6 separate regions of the Homo sapiens genome follow, and all the other regions are linked to region 4. The links are contacts of gene promoters, found by promoter capture Hi-C in blood cells and fetal thymus (Javierre and others, 2016). All regions are on one chromosome and are shown on one strand. The core of a region is centred on a gene start or on the middle of the fragment in contact, and the rest is flanking DNA. Distances in the headings are between cores, read along the strand shown.

The links. Contacts are between HindIII fragments. The CHiCAGO score rates a contact against its expected background, and 5 or more counts as called.
Region 1: a fragment that was not itself captured here is called in contact with the fragment with the promoter of ELMO3 in region 4 in 1 of 17 cell types (endothelial precursors); the score reaches 5.0 in endothelial precursors.
Region 2: a contact is called between the fragment with the promoter of CES4A here and the fragment with the promoter of ELMO3 in region 4, in 16 of 17 cell types (total CD8 T cells, M0 macrophages, erythroblasts and 13 more). The highest score is 16.0, in total CD8 T cells.
Region 3: a contact is called between a fragment that was not itself captured here and the fragment with the promoter of ELMO3 in region 4, in 1 of 17 cell types (endothelial precursors). The highest score is 5.2, in endothelial precursors.
Region 5: a fragment that was not itself captured here is called in contact with the fragment with the promoter of ELMO3 in region 4 in 1 of 17 cell types (M0 macrophages); the score reaches 5.8 in M0 macrophages.
Region 6: a contact is called between a fragment that was not itself captured here and the fragment with the promoter of ELMO3 in region 4, in 2 of 17 cell types (endothelial precursors and M0 macrophages). The highest score is 6.0, in endothelial precursors.

Annotation. Positions count from the first base shown.
Region 1 is chr16:67,386,225-67,389,785 of GRCh38, reverse strand. No RefSeq gene overlaps it. Among named protein-coding and RNA genes, the nearest start is that of TPPP3, 5.5 kb to the left of the region's middle. The HindIII fragment of the contact is 405 bases long and covers 1,662-2,066 here.
Region 2 is chr16:66,987,079-66,990,256 of GRCh38, reverse strand. CES4A (carboxylesterase 4A) reads right to left here and starts at 1,668. Exons shown (of 14, transcript NM_001364782.1): 1 at 1,427-1,668. The coding sequence starts at 1,484. The HindIII fragment of the contact is 37,432 bases long and covers 1-3,178 here.
Region 3 is chr16:67,422,394-67,425,644 of GRCh38, reverse strand. It overlaps LOC124903702 (a long non-coding RNA gene), which reads right to left. Exons shown (of 2, transcript XR_007065093.1): 2 at 1-266. Among named protein-coding and RNA genes, the nearest start is that of HSD11B2, 7.1 kb to the left of the region's middle. RefSeq lists an enhancer at 826-1,420. The HindIII fragment of the contact is 471 bases long and covers 1,210-1,680 here.
Region 4 is chr16:67,197,139-67,200,389 of GRCh38, reverse strand. It overlaps ELMO3 (engulfment and cell motility 3), which reads right to left and starts at 1,259. Exons shown (of 20, transcript NM_024712.5): 1 at 986-1,259; 2 at 797-837; 3 at 634-706; 4 at 389-439; 5 at 29-198. The coding sequence starts at 1,063. It overlaps E2F4 (E2F transcription factor 4), which reads right to left. Exons shown (of 10, transcript NM_001950.4): 8 at 2,744-2,791; 9 at 2,479-2,523; 10 at 1,472-2,382. The coding sequence ends at 2,267. RefSeq lists a silencer at 1,864-1,923. The HindIII fragment of the contact is 7,654 bases long and covers 1-3,251 here.
Region 5 is chr16:66,967,254-66,970,768 of GRCh38, reverse strand. CES3 (carboxylesterase 3) reads right to left here. Exons shown (of 13, transcript NM_024922.6): 9 at 1,010-1,090. Among named protein-coding and RNA genes, the nearest start is that of CES3, 7.7 kb to the right of the region's middle. The HindIII fragment of the contact is 299 bases long and covers 1,845-2,143 here.
Region 6 is chr16:67,406,806-67,410,016 of GRCh38, reverse strand. ZDHHC1 (zDHHC palmitoyltransferase 1) reads left to right here. Exons shown (of 12, transcript NM_001323627.2): 2 at 2,204-2,250. The coding sequence starts at 2,242. Among named protein-coding and RNA genes, the nearest start is that of ZDHHC1, 8.1 kb to the left of the region's middle. RefSeq lists enhancers at 1,541-2,426, 2,427-3,211. The HindIII fragment of the contact is 997 bases long and covers 1,452-2,448 here.

The DNA.
Region 1 (3,561 bases), core at 615-3,114, 190 kb before region 4:
GGGAATGACATTCACACTCCAGTGACCCCCTCAGTGTCATCACCCCGCTGCATGCCACACACTGCTAATCACTCCCCTTCCCCTGGCAGCCTTGCCCAGAAAAAGGCACTCATGAGTCCCCTTCTGTTAGCACAGAGCCATTCTGTCTGAGGAGACTCCTGGGGAAGTCCAAAGCCTTTTAGCTGGGCCTGACGGGAGTCCTGACATCAAAGCTTGCCTTCCTGTGACCAGTGCCTTGGGTTTGGAGAGTTGGCCCCCTCTCCACTTTCACAGCAGTAGGAGGGATGAAACAGCCGACTCAGCCTGGGCCAAGCATTGGCAGAGGCCCCAGAGCCAGGCATCAGCTTTCAGTCTGCGAACAGGGGCTACCGAGGCAAGTCATTTTGGGTTCTGGCTCAGAATACAGAAAACGCAGGGCCAGGCAGAACCTTAGAGAGTAGCTCATCCAGGCCGGGCGCGGTGGCTCACGCCTGTAATCCCAGCACTTTGGGAGGCTGAGGCGGGTGGATCATGAGGTCAGGAGTTCAAGACCAGCCTGACCAACATAGTGATACCCCGTCTCGATTAAAAATACAAAAATTGGCTGGGCATGGTGTTGCGTGCCTGTAGTCCCTCCCAGCTACTCAGGAGACTGAGGCAGGAGAATCGCTTGAATCCAGGAGTTGGAGGTTGCTGTGAGCCGAGATCACGCCACTGCACTCCAGTGTGGGCAACAGACACTTTGTCTCAAAAAAAAAAAAAAAAAAAAAAAAAAAAAAAGAGAGTAGCTCATCTGACTCCGTAATTTTATAGCTGAGGAAACATCCAGAGAGGTGGAGGGGCTTCTGCAGACTAGAGGCCAGACCATGCCTCTTGCCTCCCAGGCCAGGCTCTTTCTAGCAAGCCCCAGCATTGACTTCCAAAACTGGGACTGGCTGACTGGTGATAGGGCTTGGCACCCAACACTAGCCTGTGGTGGGAGCAGGGCATCCCTCAGTAAAGGGGCCTCCTCTTTGATGTCCTCCCATCTGTTCCACATCCCTAGTGGGGGAAGGGAGCCTCTCTGGTCCTGAGGATGCCTGGGCGTTTCCAGATCATCTCACTGAGGCTCTGGGTGTTTTGACAGAGCTATTCCCAAGCCAAGGCTTTCGGGCTACCTCTCCTTCCTTCCTTGCTGTGAAAATGGGGCTGGATGGGACTTTAGGGCCTACCCAGGAGAGGGTGGCTCCCAAAGGGGCTAGAAAAGGTATAAAAGGGCCAGTTCCCAAATGCCTGCTTTCCTGACCCAGATCACAAGACAAAGCAGCACCATTGTTTATCCTCTCATCCCACAGTCTATTGGGGGATGCTCCTGCCCAGGTGGCCCCACATCCCTTAAGCCCAGCTTTCCTTGGGGACAGGGGTGTAGCGGAATAGTATGGCTTGAGACAGGGATGTCAGGCGGGAATCGGCAGGCAGCAGGTGGGCACCTGGCCACAGCAGAGCCTTGCCTCACAGCGCGGCTCCTCCTGACCCAGCTGACCGCGTCTCCTTGAGTGGCCCAGGGAAGAGCTTCAGGGACCTTCAGGCAGATCCTCCCACCAGCAAATGTTAAGAGGTAGAATGCAAGGCGTTTAATGAAAAAAAAAAAATGCAGAGGAACAATTCCTCTAGCCCTGGAAAATTCGTTTGAATTGCAAGCTTAAAATGAACATAATAGGAGTGAAACCCAAATCCTCTGGCTTTCACCAGAACAGCCTCACAGGGAAACAAATTTAACTGTGTTCCAAATTGGGCCAGGCTCCCACTATTCCACTGCAGGTGACAGTACCATCCAATGGTAGAGGGCCCAGCGGCTTCTCCATTCCTGTGACTGGCAGTATGGCTTGGAAGAACACAGAGAGAATGGCTGAGCCCCAAAACCCCACGTCATAGGAGTAAAGCCGCCTCTTCTCGAAATGCCGTTATGAAGCCCGAGGGAATTTAAGGCCCACTCAGGGCTGGGAGGACCCTAAGACCAGACGGGTCTAGCAGAATCTGGCACATGACAGCCATTGCCCAGCAATGCCACTGCCCCTCCCCTAACAGCCTCCTTGTGGTTGAAAGCTTTGGATACCCTTGCTAGCAAAATCAGGTTAGACAAAGGAGAGGTTAGGATCAGAGGGACAGAGCCTTTAAAACCTGCTCTGTATGGCTGGGAGAACTCCCAACCTAAGAGTGGCTCTGCCCCTCCCTCTGGACATAGAACCTCCCTGAGGACCAGTCTCCATCCCAGACCTGTCCTGCTTTCTGGTGGTAGTGCCAGGCCTAGGGTGTGGGATTCTGCTCCACGTGTTTTCTGCTTGTTTAAAGGGTCCTCCGCTTTCCATGTTGAGTCCAGTTTGCCCTGAGCTCTTTGGCTCTCTCCTTAACATCGCAACCCCTACCCGTGCCCTGTAGAACAAGTGCCATACAGGGAAAAATCAGAAACAGATGACTTCCCCAGGAGTGGCCAGCAAACCTAGCAGGTGCCTGGCCTGGGGCAGGGTCGGTCACTTTCAATGACAATGGCAAATGGGGTGGAGGGTGGCACACACTGGGCCAGGCTCTTTGTTCCCCTTAGGAGGTGTCCTGAGTGGATTCTGGGGCTAGCACCATCAGGTGTTCATGGAGGAGGCAGGAAGGGCTGGGTTGGAGGAAAGCAGTGCATTATTCCTCCCTGCCCCCTGGTGTGTCCATTAGGTTGGCCTGTGCACTGGGCTGAGACCCTGAAATATAACAACTCAGGGATGCAAGGCCACTGGCTGATGCTCCCCTACCTGGGAGACAAAGACAGGCCCAGGAAAGAGGCAGCGGGGGTGCAGGGAGGCTGCTCTTACTGACATTTCCACAGAGCACAAGCTCGCTCTAGCTCCCTCAGAGCCTTGCAGCTCAAAGAAACTTCTGGCTCCTCTGTACAAGCTGCTTTTGGGAAGCCACTTAAAATCCAGAAGTCTGTGGATTTATAACTTAGAAACTTGTGACTGTCATGTCTTATTAGTATGGTGGTGGCTCTCCTTCCCTGCACAGCATGGAATCAGGGGTACAAGTAAATTATCTAATCCTTCCACCTGTCTCTCTCTCTGATGTGGCCCTGAAGGTGAAGAGAAGAACCATGTGGCATTAGGTTGAAAATCCTTCACTTTCTACACACTCTCTGGCAACATTAGCACGCTGGGAGGCCACTGAAGCAGAAACATACCTAGAACCACTTACATCATCTTTCCCCATTGATTTTTCAAATGCCCAATCAGGATTAAAAGTACAGGGCACCTGCATGTAAACTGGATGCTGAGCCCAAAGCTAACATATTCAGAAGCAGCATATCTAGTCCGGCCTGCCTCTGCCTCTTCTTTGGGCTGCCTAGCTCCGCTTTGGTCCCCCGCTACTTCACACATGATCAACCCATTCTCTTCTTCTCTCCTCCTGCTTCTTCTTCTTTCTTCTTCTTTTTTTTTTTTTTGGAGACAGGGTTTTGCTCTGTTGCCCAGGCTGGAGTGCAGTGGTGCAATCATAGCTCACTGCAGCCTTGAACTCTTGGGCTCAAGTGATCCTCATGCCTCAACCTCCCTAGTAATTGGGCCC
Region 2 (3,178 bases), core at 419-2,918, 210 kb after region 4:
GCATGGCGAAACCCCATCTCCACTAAAAAAATACAAAAATTAGCTGGGCTTGTGGTGTACGCCTGTAGTCCCAGCTACTTGGGAGGCTGAGGTGGGGAGAATTGCTTGAACCCGGGAGGTGGAGGTTGCGGTGAGCGGAGATGGCACCATTGCACACCAGTCTGGGTGACAGGGCGAGACTCCGTCTCAAAAAAAAAAAAAAAAAAAAAGAAAAGATGAAAAGAAAATGCGCCAAAATGTTAAAAGCGGAGTAAGCAAAGTTTCCTTCAAATTTAAAATAATGGATATATGTATATATGGGCAAAATTTATTTATGATAGAGGTCAGACTAGTGGTAACTTTGAGTATTGACTGAGAAGGAGTACATGGGACGCTGGAGATGGTTTTTTGTTTTTTTTTTTGAGATAGAGTTTCGCTCTTGTTGCCCAGGCTGGAGTGCAATGGCACGATCTCGGCTCACTACAACCTCTGCCTCCTGGCTTCAAGCGATTCTCCTGCCTCAGCCTCCTGAGTAGCTGGGATTACAGGCATGTGCCACCATGCCTGGCTAGTTTTGTATTTTTAGTAGAGACGGGGTAATAATATTGGTTAGGCTGGTCTCAAACTCCTGACCTCAGGTGATCTGCCCGCTTCGGCCTCCCAAAGTGCTGGGATTACAGGTGTATCCTTGTAAGTTAAAAAAACTTTTTAAAAAATGTTTTTTAAAAATAGAGACAGAGTCTATTTACCCAGGCTAGGTCTCACTATTTGCCCAGGCTGGTCTCAAACTCCTGGGCTCAAGTAATCCTCCCACCTCAGCCTCTCAAAGTGCTGGAATTACAGGCATGAGCTACCATGCCTAACCCACTGGAAATGTTCTAGATGTTGATCTGGATAATGGTTACCATATATATATATATAATAATTAGTATAATAGATATAATTATACAGTGAAGATGTGTGCACCTTGCTGTATACATCTTATACCTCAGTAAACTTTTGTTAATGTATTAGATTGTTTTCACAGTAAAAAGTGTAGTACTCATTTTAAAAAGAAAGATATTGGGGAGAAATTTGAAGGTGGTAAAGAGGTTCATGTAGCAGAGAGGGGGCAGAGACAGGCCTCCTGCTTAGGAGAAGGAAAGAAGGATGGAAGGAAGGAAAAAGGTGGGAAGGAAGAAAAGATGTGGCCATGTTCTCAGACCCCTTCACCTGTGCCGGGAGGCAGGAAATACAGAGAAGCCCTGAGGTTCAGGGAGGCTAAAGGACTTGTCCAGACTCCCAGCTGGTAGATGGTTTAGTGTCCTGAAACCCTACCCTCCATTTGCCCAGGCCTTGTCTAAGTGCTCCTGCCCTGCTGTCCCCAGGAGAGGTTGAACTGGGGCCTGTCCCTCCATCCCTTGTGCCCGTCTTGCCTGACACTCTCGGGAAGGGGTGGGGGTCTTACCCAAGGCCGTCTGCGCCATCAGGCAGAGGGTGAGGCTCCAGCACAGAATCCACCTCATGCTCCAGCCAGCTCCTGCTGTGGGCAGGAGTGATGGCAACACTGTGGATGGCAACACTGTGGATGGCATGGTAGCCGTGTCTACAGTGTGTGAGCACACTTTTATCTGCTCTTAATCCCTGCCAGCAAGTACTGGGGCGGGAGGAATTGTAACCAGCTTCTGACCAGCCCACAGCCTTGTCTCTGCCTTGGGCAACAGGTCACGCTAGATGATCTTGGCTCTTCAAACTGATCAGCCTGCAATCTCCGCCCCGTTTGCTCATCTGTGCAGTGGCTTAAAGCTGAACATGTGTGAGTCAAGGTCTAAGCATACAGTGGGTGCCAAGATTGAAGTAGAACACCTGGTTACTTGGCCCTTCAGCCAGGGCTTCCTGTCTGTGGATTTAAGGGTCTTGGGCCTCCCTGCTCCCCAGTGCCTCGTCTAGCCTCTTCCCTGCCTTTCCTCGCACATGCTGACCCTTGGCTGTCCTCACAGTTTCATAGTCCACATGCGGAAGCTGGACCTGAAAGCAACCGTAATGTGGGAGCCCAGAGGGGCACCCGAGGAGTGAGCCCAGAGCCGGGTGGTGGGAATGAAGATTCCCTGGAAAAGATCTAATCTTCTAAGTAAAGGATGAGGAGGAGTGGGCCAGGCAAAGAAAGATCCTGTTTGAAGTTTGGAGCCACAGGAGCAAGTGTGGGAGGTGGAAGCAAGGAGACAGCAGTCCCATCTTCAGTCAAAGGTAAGATGGGGCTGGGTGTGGTGGCTCATGCCTGTAATACCAGCACTTTGGAAGGCTGAGGCAGGTGGATCACCTGAGGTCAGGAGTTCGAGACCAGCCTGGCCAACATGGTGAAACCCCGTCTCTACTAAAACAAAGAATACAAAAATTAGCTGGGCGTGGTAGTGTGTGCCTGTAGTCCCAGCTACTCAGGAGGCTGAGGCAGGAGGATGGCTTGAACCTGGGAGGCGGAGGTTGTAGTGAGCCGAGATCGGGCCACTGCACTCCAGCCTGGGTGACAGAGTGAGACCCTGTCTCAAAAATAAATAGGCCAGGCACGGTGGCTCATGCCTGTAATCCCAACACTTTGGGAGGCTGAGGCAGGCGGGTCACGAGGTCAGAAGATCGAGACCATCCTGGCTAACACCCCGTCCCTACTAAAAATACAAAAAATTATCCGGGCGTGGTGGCACGCGCCCGTAGTTCCAGCTACTCAGGAGGCTGAGGCAAGAGAATTGCTTGAAACCAGGAGGCGGAGCTTGCAGTGAGCCAAGATGGCGTCACTGTACTCCAGCCTGGGCGACAGAGTGAGACTCCATCTCAAAGAACAAAAAAAAGGTAAGATGTTTCCTCTCTCGTGTACCCCCAAAGTCTGGGGTCCTGGCCCATCTTTGTGAAAAGAGGGTCTGTTGGGCTTCTGTGCTGGGGAGGGGAAAAGGCAGGGGAACAGAGAACTTCTCCCTTGGCCCACAGCCTCTTGCTCTATAGGCCTGACAGATGGTTAAACCTCCTTCTTTCACAGTCAATTTTCTGAGTTCTTCGGAGATGCTCTTTATTTGGGACTCCTCTCCCACAGTTCCCATCCTTGTGACCCTTCCTCAGTCCCAAGGAATGTGGCATTCACTGCCCAATCATTGCTGCCTGGGCTCTGTGCTCCTCTAATGAAGGCCCAAGATGACCCCCCACCCCTGCCTCTGCCACTTATCCTGTGGGG
Region 3 (3,251 bases), core at 196-2,695, 230 kb before region 4:
GTGTTTGTGGCATGCCAGTCCTTGTGCTTAGCTTGCTTGGTCTTTATTTTATTTACTATCCTCACGTCATCACTATGAAGTAGGTACTATCATTATCCTTATCCTATACATAAGGATAAGGCTACCGACCTTTTGCTATTTGCTGCTCGATTAAAAACAAGTCTCCCAACGACGGAATTGAGGCAACTTGATTGTTAAAACTCATTCCAAACTTGTCTCCTTACAGCTTCCATCACCCTGATTCAGGCCTTTTCTTGGCACAACAACTGCAAAAGATACAAAAATTAGTTGCTGTTGGCTGGCTGTTTTAATTTATTTGCATATACATAATTCAGCCCCACCCCTGGTGGCTAATACGCCCCCTGGGGAAGCTGTGGCTGTCTTCTGATTGCTGGTGGGGAGGACTGTGTGTGTTGTTTTTTTAAATAAACTGAAACCAGATGGAGGGGGGTTTTGTTCACAGCCTTGCGTACAATTTTCTCCAGCGAATTCCTTGAAAAGTCAACCACCTATGAGTGGTGCCTCTGCTCCGTGGAGGTCCCTCACCGCTGGTATGCAAATATCGAGCAGGGTTGATATTTCTCAAGAAGAAAAAGAGCTTCTTGGCCTGAGGGCTTTCCAGAATGCGGGGTCATCTCCTGGTTGCCCCCAGTTTTAGGTCTGTACTTACAGTTAATGTCCTCGCTCTCCTTCCGCCTTGTGTTGGGAGTGGGCTGGGGCGGGGGAGTCTTGGGCCAGGCTTGAGTCAAATCACCTAGACCAACCACTTGGTATAAAAATGTGAATTCCAGACCCCCACCTATACCCCATTTGCAGCACTGACCTCCGGCACGAGACCCCAACTGTCCAGCTGGGTTGATTTTTGCAGTCAGCGGAGGGGTTATTCTCCTAAAGGGGCCCAAGCCACTCCTGCTTCCATCCTGGGAAGGCCAGAAGCTGGAGGTGGTTATCGAAATATTTTTAACCGCCAGCCAGGTCCAAGGCTTTGTAATGCCCCGGGAGCCCTCATTAAGCGATTCCTTGTTCAGAGAAATGAGGCGAGTGTACCCACTGGTCACCCTGCCAGAGGTTTAGTATTTTTTCTTTGGAACGTGAATTGGGCATTGTCGTAGTGAAGTGTGACCCAGTCCCCAGGCAAGGGAGAGCACTTCTTTCCCAGCTCTGACCTTCATTCCTAGCTCAGAACACCTTTCTTTTGGATTCCAAGCTTTTTCAGATAATTGTGTCAGGTTACATAAGGCTCTGAGATATGAACACTCAAAGGAAATTCCGGTGAGAGCAGGTCTGAGAGGTTCCTGCACATAATTTGCTTTAAAGTATTCGAGGAAAACTTCAGGTGTCTGAGGCCAGCACATTTTTGAAATAAAATAAGAGCAGCCAACAACTTTGCATGGATGTGCCATTCCCCATAGAAATGAGCGAGCAAAAAGACAGATTTCACACTGAAAGGAAATACCCCTCCCCAGGGAGCCTGTGCAGGGGCGGGAGGGGGCTGGTGGGGGAGAGGCGGGAGTCAGTTGCAAGAGAACAGCTTGGACCAGGCTGCCATTGAAATGGAAATCTTCACCAACCAGGATCACTTTTTTCCCCCTTTCTGCATCTTAGGTGACACGTGGTAAACACAAGACTTCAGTTTTCCAAGAAACATAAAATAAAAACTGAATTACTGGCAGAGAAGCTTTAAAATCTTTGGTTCCTGGGACTCTGCGGGCACATTTTCCACACACCATGATTTTTATTTCATTTGCCTCTGAGGGGCGGCCCTCCAGCAGTTCTGTTGCATAAGGTACTGTTTCCAAACACCTTGTCCCCAACTGGTGACACAGAGTAAGTTTTATCTAGGTCTGAGAAGAGTTCTGGAAGAGTGACATCGTGTTCCAAGTCGCACCAGTTACAATCAACAGTAGGAAGGTTGCCAAAGATCTCACCAAGAAAGCTGAGAGAATATTTTAAATACTAAATGGCACTTCTTGCTTAAAGCATGAAGTGGTCGTAAAAACCACTTAACAGGGAAGAAAATTAATGGGAGGAAAGTGCCTTGAATGCAGCAAATTTTACAAAAAGCTTAACAAGGAACATGGAAAAAATAGATTTACTATGTTGAAGAGGTGGGATAATATAGGAAAGTCCATTTTTACACAAAAATAATTTGGTTATTTACACAAGGCTTCACAGAAGAATTCCTATAAGTAGCGCTATCCTTTTTTATTCTTCACGTGTTTGACACACATTTCTTTCTTTATGATTATTATTTTTAGAGACAGAGTCTTGCTTTGTTGCCCAGGCTACAGTGGTGCAGTCACTCATAGGTCACTGCAGCCTCGAACTCCTGGGCTCCAGGGATCCTCCCCTTCTCAGCCTCCTGAGTAGCTTGGACTACAGGCATGCGTCATCATGCACCGCTAATTTTTAAATTTTTTGTAAACACAGGGTCTTGCTATGTTGCCCAGGCTGGTCTTGAACTCCTGGGCTCAAACAATCCTCCCACCTTGGCCTCCGAAAGTGCTGGGATTACAGCGGCCTCAACACACATTTCTTGAGTGCTTAGTATGTTCTGGGCTTAGTAAGTGCTGGGATTACAGCAGCCTCAACACACATTTCTTGAGTGCTTAGTATGTTCTGGGCTCTGTGCTAGGGAAGCAATAGTAAACAATACAAACATTATTCCTCCCCTGTGGGAGGAATAATAATTCCCTCCTCTTCTGTCTGACTGGAGGGACAGGCCCTTATCAGATCATTACACAATCAAGGAGACCCAGAGAGAAGGAACGAGAAAGCAGAGTCCCACGGTGCTATGGGAATGATGGTCTCTATTCTGGGGACCACAGAGGGCTTTCCCAGAGGAAGTAAGTTTCCAGGTAGTGTGAGCTTCAAATGCAAAGGCCGTGGGATAGACAGAGCTGTGGTCAGCCTGAGCCAGGGGGCACGCAAGGTCTTGGAGACTGCGGTGGCCACAGTGAGGAGGAGGTTTCTATTCCAATTTCATGGTATATGGAAATACCTCTCCCTAAGGAGTGGGGAGTGTTGTTGAGGGTTGTAAGCAGGAAGTAAAAGAATCAGCTTGGCGTGGATTTTTTAAATTTTGTTTTTGTTCTAAGACAGCCACAGGCTGTAAGGAGAATGGACTGATAGGGGTGGGGACGGGGACAGGGAGGGCCCCCGTGGAAATCAAGAGCCAGTCAGAAAGCCAGGGCAAGAGATGCTGGTGGCCATGAAGACACGCCAAGTGGATGGGCTGAGTCATCCAGGGC
Region 4 (3,251 bases), core at 10-2,509:
CCCCCAGCCCACACATCCCTGTGCTCACTCGTCCCCATCTTCAATGATGGTGCCTAGTATCTGGAGCCCATTACGGCTGATGACCTCCCTGGCAAAGATCATGTCCGAGGCCAGCGGAACAAGGCGCCTCAGGGCTTCCCGGCGCCCTTCAGGACTGTTACTCTGCAGCCCACCCAAGAGCTGCTCAGCCTCAAGGTCCTGGCAGGAACGGAGCAGGAGCAGAGGTGAAGAGGCTGGGCATGGTAAGGGTGGGACCTGGAAGTGTGCGGCCCCGGGCGTCAACTAGGTGGCGCAAGGCAGGGCTGGGGCGGGGGCCTCCGGGGCGGGGGGCCTCTGGACCTGGAGCAAAGGGGCAGGGATGGGGAAGGCGGGACGGGAGGGGCATTACTGGGGCCGTGCTGAGGCACAGGATGCTGCCATTCTTGATCTCCGCGCGGTTCTGGAGAAGACAGCAGAAAAGGCAGCGAGGTCAGGGAGGGCTCCGAGGACTGATCAACTGGGGTGTCGGTGAGGGCGGCTGGGGGTGAATAACAGATCGCGCTCCGGTAGTGGGATGAAGAGCCAGAGTTATCGGGGCCAGGTGGGTTAGAGGGGTCGGAAGGCCGAGCTTGGGGCTGGGGAGAGGGGACTCACATTCTCGGTGATGTATCTCCGGTGCCCATCCGCAAACTGCAGGGCGTAACGCTCAGAGTGCGTCAGGCTCCACCTGAGGGGCACGAGGCTCAGCGAGGCCGGCAGGGGGCGCCGCCCCTCCTGCCCTCCCGCCCTCCGCAGGCCCTGGCCCGGCAGCACTCACGCGTCGCACACCTCCTTCAGCACAGCGGCCAGGGGCTTCGCCTGCAAGTGGAGTGGTCATTCTCGCGGCCTGGGCAGGGAGGGATGGGGAGGAGCCTGGGGGGAGGGGTGGGGCGGGCTGCCCCGAGGGCCAGGGGGCTACCGGGAGGTGGGGCAGTGGGGCAGATGGAGGCGGGACCAGCCGGGTGACCTGGTCCAGCTGGATGAGCTGCGGGATGGCGTCACGCATCTTGATGGCAATCTTCACCACGTTCCGCGGAGGCGCCATGGTCCAGCTGGGACGTGGGCGCCTGCACTTTCCGGAGACCGTGCACCTGCGGCCAAGGGTGCACCTGGCCTGGGGCCCCTGGGGACGAGGAGGTCCTCCCTTTCCGAGACCTGACCTCGGTGTCCCGCACTCGCGGCCCAGACTGCTGCTCCTGGCCATGCAACGCGGCCTTCCCAAGGGAGCCGAGGTTAGTTCCGGGTTGGAGTCTGGGGGTAGGAAGGTAGGACGGCTCCGCCTGCCCCGCCCCGCCGAGGCGGCCCCGCCCCACACCAAGGTGCGGCAGGTGGGGGCGGGGAGGGCAGGCTGCCGGAGGCCGCCCCACCCCTAGTTCCAGCAAGGTGACCCACCCAATCACACTGCCAGTCCAGCACAGTCCCAAGGAGGGTCCCCAAAGAACCACATCAGAGCTAGCCTTAGGCATGGTTTTTATTCACTTGAACACTGTACAAATATTACAATTTCCTTTTGCTGCAAAAAGTATAAAAATAATCTTTATATAGGAATCCATTCGTTACTGTAAATCTTTCTAAATCTCTGCAAATGGCTCTAAATGAGGGTAAATGAAAAAGCCGAAATGAAGAGAGGGTTATGGGGCAGCAGGAGGTGGGGCCAATCATCAGGGCTGGACCACCCAGACTCCTCCCCAGAGACCTCTGTTCCTTCTTGGTAGCCGCCCCCACCACCTGCAGGTTCTAGGGCTAAAGGCCCAGCAGAAGTGGGCACGTGAGAGGGCCAGGAGGAGCTGGAGGGTCAGGGGGTGGGGGATAGCGAAGGAAGCTAGAAGTGGTGCTGGCATGTGCCCAGTTCCACCCCACCCTTCCCTCCTAGGGGAAGGAGCTGGCAGAAGCAAGACACTGAGGCTGGCAGGAACAAGACACTGCCCCCTATGGGGGGTAATGGCAGCTCCTCGGTTCTGTGCCACTGGGTGGCAGCCGAGCCTGGGCTGGCGAAGGCCGCAGAAAGGGAGAAGCAAACACTTTGGCTCCACGGTGATGGGGGCTGAGTCCTGTTCCCCTGCTCTGCGAGCACAGAAGTGCCAGCACAGGAGCGGGAGCTGTGGCCAGAACTGTGCGGTGAGGGGAGGCCGGAGAAGCCAGGCGTCTGTGGCTCTCAAGCTCTGTAGGGGTCGGGTGGGAGAGGTCCCCAGGCAACCCCCAGGTCAGACAGTCTGGGTCCCAGCCACACAGGGCATGTCCCTGTCAGTCAGAGGTTGAGAACAGGCACATCAAAGAGGTCACAGACACCTTCACTCTCGTCCAGGTTGTAGATATAATCGTGGTCTCCCGGGGGTGGAGAAAGACGAAGCAGAGGGGCAAACACTGCAGAGAGCACTAGTCTCAGGCCCTGGGCCAGGGCTCCCCTAGCAGCAGCCCAACCCCTGCCCACACCCACTCCCACCTTCCAGGGCCACCCACCTTCTGAGGACATCAACTCCTCCAGCAGCTCCGAGCTCATGCACTCTGGGAATGGAGGGAGCTCAGTTACTAACATTCCAGCTCCCACCTCTCCACCCACCAAAGCCCAGGAAAGGGAACCCCACCTGCCCATCAGGAACTTCACCCTTTGCCCCAGTTACCATAAGCGCCACAACAAGGTCCTCAAAAGGGCAAGAAAACAGCCATAGGACCCAATGAGCTGTGTCCCTTACCCCTAGCCTCAGGGAGGAATGCAGCAGCCTACCTCGTGTGGGATCAAAGATTTCTGACAGCTCTTTGGGGAGTTCCAAAACTGAAAAACAAGAAAGCCATGCTCAGGGCACAGAGGTCCAGCCTGGCCCCACTACAGCCCCCTGGCTTCCTCGGATCCTATACCACCCACCCTGAGGCTCCACACAGCTAAGGAGATGTAGGTCCTGCCTAGGCCAAGCTGGCACTGTCTGTTGGCCTCACTTGCTAAACCTGAATTCCTCAGTGCTGAGCCCAGGGTACCAAAGGCCCCCTGCAAGCGATTGGTACAGCTTTTCTAACTCGGAAAGGCCACAGAAGCCTCTTTCTGGGCTCAGCATGCACCCCCTGTCTGACAGAAGGTACCCCATCTGTCCCACCCTTGCTGAGCACCTGCTCTGTGCAAGACTGAGACCAGACCCTGGGTCAGGTCACCAGGCAGAGGTGGTGGCGCTACAGGGTGATGACTCCACTACAAACCTCTGGCCAGGAGGACACAGGGGAAGCAGAAGAAAATGCAACCA
Region 5 (3,515 bases), core at 745-3,244, 230 kb after region 4:
TCTGGGGCTTCCAAAGAAGGGAAATGGACAAAGATTGAACAGCCCCTGGTATTGAGATCCCAGGTAGACTCTTCAAATGCAACGTCTAGTCTCCTTACAACAGCCCAGGCGAGTGGGCAGTGTCATCCCCATGTGTAGATGAAGAGATGGGCTTAGAGGGGATAGGATAACTGGGCAAGTGCCCAGGGCTGGGATTTGGCCCCAGGTCTATCTAGCTCCACATCTGACAGCTGAGGCTCTAGGGTCAGACAAAACTGGCTTAAACTCTGCCTCTGCCCCTTCCCCAGCATGACACCTCAAGCCTCAGTTTCCTCATGTGTAAAATGGGGCTAGCGAGAATTCCTCTGTAAAGAGTTGCAGCGCCGGGCGCGGTGGCTCCACGCTCGCAATCCCAGCACTTTGGGAGGCCGAGGCGGGTGAATCACCTGAGGTCAGGAGTTTGAGACCAGCCTGGCCAACATGGTGAAACCCTGTCTCTACTAAAACACAAAAATTAGCCGGGCATGGTGGCAGGGGCCTGTAATCCCAGCTACTCGGGAGGCTGAGGCAGGAGAATCGCTTGAATGAGGGAGGTGGATGTTGCGGTGAGCCGAGATCGGGCCACTGCACTCCAGCCTTGGCGACAGAGCAAGACTCTGTCTCAAAAAAAAAAAAAAAAACAAAGAAAAGAAAAGAAAAGAAAACAGAGTTGCAGTGAGGATTGAAGGAGATGAAACCCTCTCCCGGCGCTCAGTGCACCATAGTCCCTGGCACGTAATATGTGCTCATTAACGGGCAGTTTCATGTTGACGATGATGGTGATGATGGTTTTCCTTTGAGAACCACACTGGCTCATATCTAAGGAGATTCCGGAGTGGAAGTAAAATTGATCAGTTAGACAAAGGGGCTTGGTGGTAGGTGGGTAGCTGTGGGTGTCGGAAGGTAGGGGCAGAGACTGTGCTGTTGGATGGGATACCCACTAGCTTCCTCCCTCCTGCCCTAGCTTCCTCCCTCCTGCCTCTTGTCTCACCAGACTGGTCAAGACGGGTGTTGAGATGGCCAGCATGTCCTCCCGGCTCATCTGCTCCATTGTATCCAGGAGACCCCAGCCCTGTGTGGACACCAAGGCCCTCTCAGTGGAGCCTGACCACCGGCTCACCCCGACTCCCAGCCCTGGGCAAGAGAGTGTTCACGGTCCTGAGGCCAGAAACTCATCATGGAGCACTTGGCCAAAATGGGGCCGAAAAGTCCACAGATCCAAAAAGATAAACCGCAAATTGGTGGGAGGTGGTTGGTGTGGATGGGGAGAGCAGCCCCAAATACAACAGGCAAGTGGTTAAAGGCAACTGTAGAGAATGAAAAATTTCTTCAACATTTTTTTTTTGAGACAGAGACTCACTCCGTTGCCCAGGCTGGAGTGCAGTGGCGCAATCTCGGCTCACCGCAACCTCCGCCTCCTGGGTTCAAGCTATTCTCCTGCCTCAGCCTCCCGAGTAGCTGGGACCGCAGACGTGCACCACCGTGCCTGGCTAATTTTTGTATTTTTAGTAGAGGTGGGGTTATGCCATGTTGGCCAGGCTGGTCTCACACTCCTGGCCTTGAGTGATCCGCCTGCCTTGGCCTCCCAAAGTGCTGGGATTAAAGGCATGAGCCGCCGGGCCCAGCCTGAGTCACCCAACTTCTAAGAAACATTCTCAGCAACAAGTCCTGGGCACAGCCTTCCACGCCAGGCAGATCTACCCAGGTCCTGGGGCACAGCCAGGTTGGGGTTCCCTTGGTTTCACTCATACAACTGTAAGTTGATGGTGTGGGGTAAAGGCTGCCTGCCAGAGTTGAGGGCATTGACCTGAAAACTTTTACAAGCTTTGTATTTTGTGAGACAGTGTCTCACTCTGTCACCCAGGCTGGAGTATAGTGGGACAGTCTCGGCTCACTGCAGCCTCTGCCTCCTGGGTTCAAGTGATTCTCGTGCCTCAGCCTCCTGAGTAGCTGGAATTACAGGCATGCACCACCACGCCCAGCTAATTTTTGTATTTTTAGTACAGATGGGGTTTCACCATGTTGGCTAGGCTGGTCTCGAACTCCTGACTTCAAGTGACCCACTCACCTCAGCCTCCCAAAGTGCTGGGATTATAGGCATGAGCCACCGCACCCGGCTTAAGCTTTGTCTTTGAATGTCAAGATTGCATGAGCCTCTCTCTCACATACCAAGGGACCAATATGAGGGGATTGATTCCAAAGGGCTAAGTCAGAGGACAAAAGCCATGGACATGAAGACATTCACTGCGCTATTAGCCTCAGTGGTAAAAACTAGAAGTTGCCAGGACCGGGTGCAGCCTCATGCCTGTAATCCCAGCATTTTGGGAGGCCAAGGCTGGTGGATCACCTGAGTTCAGGAGTTCCAGATCAGCCTGTCCAACATGGAGAAACCCCATCTCTACTAAAAAAAATACAAAAATTAGCCAGGCATGGTGGCAGATGCCTGTAATCCCAGCTACTCAGGAGGCTGAGGCAGGAGAATCGCTTGAACCTGGGAGGCAGAGGTTGCAGTGCGGTGAGCTAAGATCGCGCCATTGCACTCCACCCTGGGCAACAAGAGCAAAACTCCATCTCAAAAACAAAACAAACAAACAAACAAAAAAACTAGAAGATGCCCAAATGCCAAGATGAAAGAACAATGTAACGAGACGCTCCATTTGTGGAAGATTTGCAGCCATTAAAAGTGGTTGTTGGCTGGGTGCTGTGGCTCATGTCTGTAATCCCAGCACTGTGGGAGGTCGAGGCAAGAGGATTGCTTGAGGCCAGGTGCTCTAGACCAGCTTGGGCAACAGAGGGAGACCTGACTATACACGGAAGAAAAAAAAAGTTAGCAGAGTATGGTGGCACAGACCTGAGGCCCGAGCTACTCAGGAAGCTGGGAGGATTGCTCGGGCCTGAGAGGTTGAGGCAGTAGAGAGTCATGATGGCGCTGCTGCACTGCAGCCTGGATGATGGATCGAGGCTCTGTCTCAAAAAACAAACAAACACACAAACAACAACAACAACAAAAATGGATTGCTTTGTCTTAGGGTGTGCAATGGGCCAAGACGAAAAAAAAAAAAAAAGAAAAGTGAAGAAAATGATTGCTGTGAAGATGGGTAGAAGAATAAGAATGACAGAAACAAGATGCTCGGGATGAAAGCACAGTGCTGACACTCTTGTGGGAAGTTCTATGCACCTGGAAAGGAATGGAAGGGACTTGGCTCATGAAGTCCCCGGTGGCTTGATATCTAAAACCTGAGAGTTTTAGTCAATTGCTCTGGCACAGAGTCACACTAACCAGTCTCATAGAGCCTGATGTATAAACCAGACGCCAAGGCAGGAATATGCTGCCCAGATCAGCAGTGCCCAGAAGGCCAGTTTGTGCAAAAACCTTGTTCCCCAAAAGAAAACATTTGCTTTATTGAAGTGGCCCACGCCTGTAATCCCAACACTTCGGAAGGCCAAAGCAGATGGATTACTTGAGGTCAGGAGCTTGAGACCAGCCTGGCCAACGT
Region 6 (3,211 bases), core at 701-3,200, 210 kb before region 4:
TCCATTCCCTCCTTCCCCCACCCCCCACCCCCGCCACCTGTCCACCCTGTGTTCTGCCACATTGGATGGCTGGCCCTTGCATGGGCTGCCAAAATGCCCATTCACCCACTGCCCTGGTATCTGTTCGTGTCCGTCCAGGTCCCAGAAGAGAAGCCCCTGAGGGCAGGCACCCGGTCTCATCTGTGTTTACATCCTAAGTGCGCAGGCTGGGCTCCGATAAGTGCTGACTGGCCAAGGTCAGAGGGTGCCAGCTGGCTACGTCGTTGGAGAACAGAGCCACATGTCTTTCAATCTGGTCTCCTAGAGAAGTGCTGAGAGGGGAGCAACAGCCAGAGAAGTCCCGGGGTCTGGTGACAGTGCTTGGTCCCATCCATGGGCCTGGGAGCCCCATCTTGGATTCTCTCCGACCTCCCAGCCCTTTTAATCAAAATCTTTTGGGCCGAAGGAATTTGTAGCCACCAACTCTGCAGGAGAAAATGTCGTCAGTGAAGAGTGGGCTGGCCTGGGCATGCCTCTGGGCCAGCCTGGGCGTCTATACCAGAATGCTGCCTCTGCTGAGGGAGGTCTGCCTGGCAGCACCATCCCCACATCCACAGCCTCAGACAAGTGCTCCCTTCCTGGGCCTGATTTGGAGTATCGGGGGTATCCTGATTTGGAGTATCAGGGGGTATCCGATTTGGAGTATCAGGGAGTATCCTGATTTGGAGTATCAGGGGGTATCCTGATTTGGAGTATCAGGGGGTATCCTGATTTGGAGTATCAGCGGGTATCCTGATTTGGAGTATCAGGGGGTATCCTGATTTGGAGTCAGAGCCATCCCCAAGGCTGTAAGTGGCGGGCGCCTGGCTGCAGATGGTGACTCCTCCTGCCTCAGGAGTCAGGGATACAGCAGCTCTGGGGGTGCCTGTGGCCACTGCCAGGCAGTGGGGCCAGATCAGCTGCATGCGTCTGTTTTGCTCTTTGGAAACTCCTGCAAGGTGTAGGGTTGTTCAGGTTTGGGGATGGCAAAAGGAGAGCCAGAATTTAGGAATCCAAATTAATGGATTCCTTTCAAAGTAATTGCCCTGGTGATGGTGTCACTGGGGAGCTGATGTGCAAGCCACAGAGATTGGCCCCAGAGCAGAACCATCCAACCCAATCATATTCACAGGGCTTGACCTGATGACCTTTGACAATTCCACAATACAAGGACAAAGATTTGCTATCTTTGGGGACATGCAAAAGAAAGTGAGGGCTGGGATAGTGGGTCATGCATGTAATCTCAGTGCTTTGGGAGGATAAAGTGGGAAGATCGCTTGAGCCCAGGAGTTGGAGACCAGCCTGGGCAACATAGTGGGACTGTCTCTGCAAAAATAAAAAATAAATAGCTAGGCATGGCAACACGCCGCTGTATTTCTAGCTACTCAGGAGGCTGAGGCAGGAGGATCACTTGAGCCCAGGAGATTGAAGCTTCAGTGAGCTATCATTGCGCCACGGCACTCCAGCCTGGGTGACAGCGCAAGACCCTGTTTCAAAAACAAAAAACAAAACAAAACAAAGCAAGGCCGGGCACGGTGGCTCACGCCTCTAATCCCAGCACTTTGGGAGGCCAAGGCTGGCGGATCTCTTGAGTCTGGAGTCCAGGAGTTGGAGACCACCCTGGGCAACATAGTGGGACCCTGTCTTTACAAAAAAATAAAATAAAGTAGCCAGGTGTGGTGGTGCGTGCCTGTACTTCCAGCTACTCTGGAGGCTGAGGTGGGAGGATCACTTGAGCCCAGGAGGTCAAGGTTACAGTGAGCTGTGATGGTGCCACTGCACTCCAGCCTGGGCAACAGAGCAAGATCCTGTCTCAGAAGAAAAAAAAAAACCCTAAACCCAAAACCCAAATACCACCAGTTGAATCCCTGGGGGAAAACTAAGTCCTCCATTTAGCTTTGAGATGGGACAACTCAGAGGTCACTTCAAATAATGCTTGGCTTGGCCTGCAGGAGGCTCTGAGCCTCAGGTGGGCTGAAGGGCAGGGTGGCTAGGAGTGAGTGTCTGGCAGTCAGGGTGGTAGCCAGCCGGCAGAGGGAGATGGGCTGCGGGAGGCATGGGTTCACGACCCTGCAGAAAGAGGGCAGGGCTGGATGGATGGAAGGCAGGAGAAAGCAGGCCAGATGGCTTAGGGTGGACCAGGATTCCACACCATTTACTGTGCCCACGTTTCCTTTTATTTCAGCTGTTTTCAAGTCAGCAAACATTTACTGAGGATCTACTATGTACAAGGTACAATTTTGGGTGCCTGGGGGAAGGGACATAGGGGACAGAGATGAATAAACCCCACCCAGCACATTTGCTGCCTTTGGGGAAAGTTGTCCTAATGAGGGCAGACATGAGGATTGCAAAGCGTCCCAAATGGCAAAGTAATTTGCCCAACAATGACTTAGCATAAGGGCCCCCTGACTCAGGGCATCAGGGAAAGCTTCCTGGATGAGGCAACCCTTGCAGTTGGCTCTGAAGATCAAGCCTCATTCTGTGGATTGAGAAGTGAGAAAGGTGATCCAGGAAGATGCACTGAGTCGGGGTCTGCGGCACCCTTTCTGCTTAGGTTCCCTGTCTCATGGGCAGGGGCTCCTGAAAGGAGAGTTCAGCTACCAGGGTTTTAGTCCCAGCTCCTGGCCTTCCCACCATGAGCGCAGAGCTGGCCTGTCTCCCAGGTGTGGCGCTGCCTGCCTGAGCTGTTGTCCCATCTTGGGCCCATATCCTGGGGATGGGGGTCTTCCTCCTGTAGCCTACCCCTTCTTGCCTGGCATTCATCCCTGGACCCTGGGCCAGCTGTCCGGCTAGAGGGTGGCGGGTGGAGGGGGTGGTTGATGCCATCTGGTGGTCTGGCTCTGAGTCCAAGGGCGTTAGCCCACCTTTCTGTACAAAACTGTACACCAGGCCCAGATTTACTTAGAGAAACGTGGTCATTTCTGCTGCTGAAGGGAACTAAAGAGGAATCCTTCCCTTCCTCACATGTGCTGGCCCCTCCCCAGCTGAGAACCCTCAGGCAGCATGGGGCAGAGCTTCAGACTCCCCCAGTCCTAAAGGGATTTTCTGTCCACCGTGGGGGAGAGGGCAGATCCTCCTTCTGGGCACCCCATTCCCCGTTTCCCTGAGCAAAGGATAGCGGGGGTGTCTGACACTTGCATTTGGACCTCAGGAAGGAGGTGACTAATCCTAACAGAATCAGCATGTGTTCTCA